2 separate regions of the Homo sapiens genome follow, and region 2 is linked to region 1. Evidence: promoter capture Hi-C in 16 types of primary human blood cells and fetal thymus (Javierre and others, 2016). All regions are on one chromosome and are shown on one strand. Each heading gives the region's core, a stretch centred on a gene start or on the middle of the fragment in contact. The rest is flanking DNA. Distances are from core to core; before and after follow the strand shown.

What was found. The method cuts DNA at HindIII sites, captures the fragments that hold promoters and counts their contacts. A CHiCAGO score of 5 or more calls a contact.
Region 2: a contact is called between a fragment that was not itself captured here and the fragment with the promoter of KBTBD4 in region 1, in 3 of 17 cell types (M2 macrophages, M1 macrophages and M0 macrophages). The highest score is 6.4, in M2 macrophages.

Annotation. Positions count from the first base shown.
Region 1 is chr11:47,577,720-47,580,787 of GRCh38, reverse strand. It overlaps KBTBD4 (kelch repeat and BTB domain containing 4), which reads left to right and starts at 1,818. Exons shown (of 4, transcript NM_018095.6): 1 at 1,818-1,855; 2 at 2,760-3,068. The coding sequence starts at 1,837. It overlaps NDUFS3 (NADH:ubiquinone oxidoreductase core subunit S3), which reads right to left and starts at 1,714. Exons shown (of 7, transcript NM_004551.3): 1 at 1,630-1,714; 2 at 1,454-1,519; 3 at 166-263. The coding sequence starts at 1,696. RefSeq lists a silencer at 1-199 and enhancers at 941-1,599, 1,668-1,907, 1,600-2,259. The HindIII fragment of the contact is 1,977 bases long and covers 57-2,033 here.
Region 2 is chr11:47,620,041-47,623,900 of GRCh38, reverse strand. MTCH2 (mitochondrial carrier 2) reads left to right here. Exons shown (of 13, transcript NM_014342.4): 12 at 1,125-1,200. Among named protein-coding and RNA genes, the nearest start is that of MTCH2, 21 kb to the left of the region's middle. The HindIII fragment of the contact is 1,018 bases long and covers 1,717-2,734 here.

The DNA of each region.
Region 1 (3,068 bases), core at 569-3,068:
AACAGCTAACTTCAGCTGGAGTCACCTGGTTTAATGCTGAGAGAAAAGTCCAAGCTTGGGATGGAGGAATCTGTAGTTTCTTTGAAACAAGTCTGCCCACTCCCACATGCCCTGCGAACATGGTTCTTTCTTGACCCAGACCCAAATAACATTAGTAAGTATTACCTGAACTTGTTGGACATACTTGGGCAAGATTTCAGCCACATACTCTCCAAAAGCTGAGAGCTGCTTGTGGGCCACATCATTCCGTGGTCTGACAGTGGCTGGAAGGAAAAGGCATATTTAAAAAAGAAATGGAGAAGGCAAAAGCCAGCCCTGCATGCAGTCTCTTAGGCTTGTAAGGGATGTCAAATCCAGGAAAGGCTCCCTGAAGCACCTTGAGAAAGGTGCATGTGAAAGGTTTCCCTTCTAGGGAATACAGTGATGAAAACTTGGGGAAAGTGCCACCTTAACTACACGGTCCTCAGAAAGACTCTTACTATAGCAGCTGGGGTGTTCACCTCTTCTCAAAATTACTCCACAGTTCTTCCCTCACATTGCCTGCATTTCTGCTAAAGCAGTAGTCTCAGTTCTCCTGTCAGACTAAGAGCTGTTTGAGGATGGGAACTGAACTTTTGCCTCTCTGTAGCTCCTTAGCACGCAAGTTTATACCAGGTTCTCAAGCTAAGAACTTCAGGGCTTGAAGATCCCTCACAGACTCTCTCTCTCCTTAAAAGTGTGTGTGTGTGTGTGTGTCAATGAGAAAACTGAGGCCCAGGTGTGTGTGTGTGTGTGTGTGTGTGTGTGTGTGTGTGTGTGTGTGTCAATGAGAAAACCCAGGAAAGGAGAAATGCCAGGTCTCCTAACTCCCAGTCCGTGTATCTTGACTGTAACATAATATGTACATACTCATTCATGCAACCCTAAACCACTGAGCAATCACACATCACAAGCTACAGAATAATGGTTAGGTGTTTCTGCCTCTGGCAGCAGGCAGGCCTACTTTGTCATTCACTAGGTCTTTGACCCTGGGCAGTTTAATTCTTTGGACTGTTTCCTGATCTATAGTAAGAAGAGTAAGATGCTATCTACCCCATAAGGCTGTTGTGAGGACGAAATAAGATCATTCACTAAAACGCTTAGCGAGGTTCCAGGCACACATTAAGCACTCAATTAACGCTAGGTACTATTATTACAGGGCTCTGAGGCCTAAAGGTTATATTGCTTGCTTTCAAAGAGCTGACAGTTTAATCAGACAAAAAGGGGATGATTGAAATGGACAAGGAACAATCAGGGCCATAACAGGCCTAAGGGCACAGGGAGGGCTCGATTCTGCATGCAGGGTGAAGACCACTGCAAGTCAGATCTCCAAGATTTGCCAGGAGGACGTAGGGAAGGGCATCCTAGGGCAAGGACAGGCATCTAAGGGGCCCCGCCGATAGTTCAGAGAAGAGCGCTGCCCGCACATACTCACGGCGCGTGTCGGCCCCGGCGCTCTCCCGCCTCACCGGCAGCAACAGAACGGAGGGTCGCCCAGTCCCTGCACAGGGAGATAAAAGGCACAGACGCGCGGGATGAGCCCTGAGGAGCTCTCTGCACTGGGCACGCCGCTGCGCCTGACCCCGGTCTCAGCTGGCTGCCCGTGCTCACCCCTGGTCAGCGCCGAGGCCCCCAAGATCCCGCGCCACCACAGCCTGGCTACCGCCGCCGCCGCCATGTTACTCAGATGCAGACTAGGCAGCGGACGGAAAGACAGCAGGACACGGAGCCCCAAGGGCACGGACCGGAAACGGAAGTGTGCAGCAGATCTTCTTCCGGGCGGACGTGGAGCCGGAAGCGGAGGTTCCGGGCTCCGGGATGAAAGGAGGGAACGCAGGTGAGAAAGCGAGACAGGCAGGTAGGGAAATCGTGAGGTGAGCGTGGTCCTAGCTCCTTGTGGCAGAGCCTAGAGAGAAGGCGAGGACGCTGAAGAACCAGGCGGGTGAGAGGAGGGGAGGGGGCGGGCGTTTTGGGTTCTACGCTACACACCCCTCCCCCGCTCTCTGAGCCAAGCTTTTGACGAGGGCGGGCGGGCCTGAGCGGGAAGAACGGTTTCCCTGGCGACCGTTTCCAAGACGACTCAAGGTGGAGCGGGGACATTGCACAGGGTGATGGGCCTCCCAGTGCCCCGGCCTGGGGGCGGATGGACTCAAGTTCTGGGACGCAGCCATAGGGAGTCTTTCGAGCGAGCGGGGAAGTGTGGGGGAAGCAGCTCAGAAGAGAGCAAATGTAAGACCCACGGATATCCCAGGCTAGGCTTCATATGGAGCGTCTTAACTCCATGCGCTGGGAAGGAGAGGACCTGGCCACTAGGCCGGGGCCAGGGGTCCTTTTTGTCTGATTCTACTGCCCCTGAGCTTCACTAGTTTTATGCCCCAGTTATTTGGTTAGTAAGGCTTTTACGATCACAGGCCTCTCCCAGCCCTTTGCTTTCATATATTGACCTAAATCCCAAGTCTTTTGTTAACATTATGGAAAGGAATTATTCCGTGTTTTCTCAGGAAAACACCCAGAGTTGGAACTTTTATTTATATCATTAGCGGAGGGGCGCCACTGGGGATAACGAACCCAGATTTGGTTAAAGGATAGCGTCAGGGACATCATGGACAGGGCCAGGACTAAGGCCAATCTGGACCCACTTTGCTCTCACTTCTTCCTTTTCCCTCCCTGAGTTGGACAGTTGGATTCACAGACTATGGCTGTGAATTCCTCAGGTTACTCAAGATGGTGTTGCTTTGCAGACAGCTGGCAGAGAGAGAAGTTGGCTAGCATGGAATCACCAGAGGAGCCTGGAGCATCCATGGATGAGAACTACTTTGTGAACTACACTTTCAAAGATCGGTCACATTCAGGCCGTGTGGCTCAAGGCATCATGAAACTGTGTCTAGAGGAGGAGCTCTTTGCTGATGTCACCATTTCGGTGGAAGGCCGGGAGTTTCAGCTCCATCGGCTGGTCCTCTCAGCTCAGAGCTGCTTCTTCCGATCCATGTTCACTTCCAACCTGAAGGAGGCCCACAACCGGGTGATTGTGCTGCAGGATGTCAGCGAGT
Region 2 (3,860 bases), core at 976-3,475, 43 kb before region 1:
TCTGTATTTCTAGTAGAGACAGTGTTTCACCATGTTGGCCAGGCTGGTCTCGAACTCCTGACCTCAAGTGGTCCACCCTCCTCGACCTCCTAAAGTGCTGGGATTACAGGCGTGAGCCACTGCACCCAGCCTTGCCTTTTTTGTTTAATTCAAAATTCTTTTCCCATATGGTACCTGACATATCATTAAACATGTTACTGTTTTCAAATAAGATCAGATAGCTATGTGGAGTTTTGAACATTTTACATTGTTTGTTTTCTGGTTTTGTTTGTTTCATGTTACTCCTGGCAAGCTGTGATGTTTTCTGATACGTAGAGCAACTGCCATTTTTTAGCACAGTGTAAACTTGAAGGATGAATTAAATGTATTATTATTATTTACAGTTTTTTCAAGATGAAGTGATTATACCTAAGTAGGAACATATATATCTACTGTTTATATCCGTTTTCATGTTTAGTATCTTTGTGAACACCAGTTAGTTTTTAAATCTCCTTTCCCTGCTCTTTTTTTTTTTTTTTTTTTTTAAAAAAAGACTGGTTCTTACTCTGTCACCCAGGCTGGAGTGCAGTAGTGCAATCTTGGCTCACTGCAACTTCCGCCTCCTGGGTTGAAGCAATTCACATGCCTTAGCCTCCCAAGTAGCCGGGATTACAGGCATGCGCCACCATGCCAGCTCATGTTTTTGTATTTTCAGTAGAGATGGGGTTTCACCATGTTGGCCAGGCTGGTCTTGAACTCCTGACCTCAAATGATCCACCTGCCTTGGCCTCCCAAAGTGCTGGAATTACAGGTGTGAGCCACCGTGCCCGGCCACCTTTCCCTGCTCTTTAATCATGTAAATGCTGTGTTCTGGAGTTTCATTTGTCCACAAAGGAAAAGTCTAAATGTTTTAGAAATTAAGGTTGAAGTTTATGTTTATTTATTTATTTGAAACCTAAATATAGGGGAGGAATTCTCTTTTGGATGCTTGATCGTTCCCCTGCTTCAATATGATTTGTTTCATTGAACTAAAATGATCTCTCAGGGAATCTTCTGTGCAGCAGAATATTTTGACAAGGTTTATCAACGTCTCAAGAGAATGGTTAATATTAACATGAATAGCTCCATGTTTTTTTCTATTTTAGTCTTGCTGGTGGATGCCCTCCTTACTCCCCAATATATACGTCTTGGATAGACTGTTGGTGCATGCTACAAAAAGAGGTATTTCTTTTTCTCTGTCTCTCTCATTTTATTTTGTTTTATTTTTATTTATTTGTTTTCTTAAATATTGTCTCTGGAATCCCAAGTTAACTCTTGTAGCTCACTTTAGCTAGAGTTAGTCTAGTCTGCCAGTTAATGTACACTTTACAGTGTTCTGTGTTTTCACTTTGGCATAATAGTAAAATGTGATGTTTAGAAATCATGAGCAGGAGTAATGAAGAAGAAAGAATCCCTAGATGAGACCTAGAAGCCATTTGAGTGCCCACATTCAACTTACAAATACGATCCAGGTAGATTATTATCCTGGTAAAATGATGGCCTTGATTTTAGACTCTTTTTTTCCCCCAAACTCACCTTTCATAACCACTTATTTGTCACAGTGGTATTGACAGAGCTGGTCTTATACTTCTAGAGTCTTGTTAGTGGATGATTTTGCCTAGATACCAATTTAGGGTTTGTTATTACTATGAGGTGTATAATCTGCAACAAAAAATTATTTATTATCTAGGCAAAGCTTTATTGGAAAATAAAATAATGGGCTGGGTGCAGTGGCTCACGCTTATAATTCTAGCACTTCGAGAGGTCTAGGTGGGCAAATTGCTTGAGCCTAGGAGTTTGAGACCAGTTGAGGCAACATGATGAGACCTCATTGCTACAGAAAATACAAAAACTTAGCCAGGCATAGCACCTATAGTCCCAGCTACCCAGGAGGCTAAGGTGGGAGGATCACCTGAGCCCAGGAGGTCAAGGCTGCAGTGAGCCAAGATTGCATCACCGCACTTCAGCCTGGGTGACAGAGTGAGACCCTGTATCCAAAAAAGGAAAATAAAATAACGGCTAGGTATGGTGGCTCATGCCTATAGTTCCAGTTACTCAGGAGGCTGAGCCAGGAGGATCACATGAGTCCAGGAGTTTGAGGCCAGCCTGGGCAACACAGCCAGACGTGTCTCTTAACAAAAAACTACAGGCCAGGTGCAGTGGCTCACAGGTGTAATCCCAGCACTTTGGGAGGCCAAGGCGGGCAGATCACTTGAGGTCAGGAGTTTGAGACCAGCCTGGGCAACGCAGTGAAACCCCATCTCTACTAAAATACAAAAGAAATTAGCTGGGCGTAGCAGCGTGTGCCTGTAGTCCCAGCTACTGGGGAGGCTGAGGGAAGAGAATTGCTTTAACCCAGGAGGTGGAGGTTGCAGTGAGCCAAGATTGTGCCACTGCACTCCAGCCTGGGTGACAGAGCAAGACTCCATCTCAAAAAAAAAAAAAAGACAATAACAACAACAAATGGATTGGCTGTGGGCTAAATTTAGCACAGGATCACTTAAAATGATTATCAGTTTAAAGCTGTTTTTGAAGGGGGGTCCACTTCTTAAAAGATTGTAGAAGAAAGCGTATAAAGAAGCTCTTTGTTGCATTATTTTATAGCACTAGTGATATATAAGAGAAAGGCCTTTGAAATCTGAATGAAAAGGCCTAAGTGTTGTTTGTAGTTGCTCTTGCTTAGTGTGCCCACAAAGCCCCTCTGTGAATCCAAGCTTGAATACTTGAATGATTTCAGTACAGACCTACTATGAACATTGTGCATTTCATTCTGAGTTTTACTCTCTATTGTACAGTGTGGTCCCTGTTTAAATGGAAAAAATGGCCTTTCCTTCCTTCCTTTTCTGACTAACACTCTGTTATAGGAAGAAAGCAGACAGAGAATGGATTACGGTGTCAAACACACTTAAAGTAGGAACAGTTGTTCCTGTAGGTGCTTACAACAACAGCAAATCTTGATTGGGCATTTACTGTATACCAGATATCATGCTAAGAGCTTTTCTTACATCAGCTCATGTAATCCTCAAAACAGCTGTGTGAGAATAGGTGTCATTCTTAATCACCCATTTCACATATGAAGAAACTGGGGCTTAGAGCAGTTTAGTGCCAATTACATAATGCAAGGTCACATGGCCTATATTTGGGAAGGCTCAGATTTATACTCCAGAGTGTACTCAGTTGCACTCAGAACATTATTACTTTATTTTTATTTACTTATTTGGTTCTTTATTTTTTAGAGACAAGCTCTGTCGCCCAGGCTGGTGTGCAGTGGTGGCATCACAACTCACTGTAGCCTCAAACTCCTGGGGTAAAGCAATCCTCCTACCTCAGCCTCCCAAGTAGCTAGGACTACAGGCATGCTTCCACCATGTCCTGTTAATTTTTTTGTTTTGTTTTGTTTTTGAGACAGGGTCTCACTCTGTCACCCAGGCTGGAGTGCAGTGGCATGGTATTGGCTCACTGCAACCTCTGCCTCCTGGCTGAGGTCTCTGGCTCAAGTGATCGTCCCACCTCAGCATCCCAGGTAGCTTGGACTACAGGCACATACCGCTAAGCCCAGCTCATTTTTTTGTTTTTTGTTTTTTGTTTTTTTTAATTTTATTATTATTATACTTTTAAGTTTTAGGGTACATGTGCACAACGTGCAGGTTTGTTACATATGTATACATGTGCCGTGTTGGTGTGCTGCACCCATTAACTCATCATTTAGCATTAGGTATATCTCCTAATGCTATCCCTCCCCCCTCACCCCTGTTTTTTGTTTTTTGTTTGTTTGTTTTTTTGTTTTGTTTTGTTTTGTTTTGTTTGAGACGGAGGCTTGCTCTGTCATCCAGGCTAGAGTG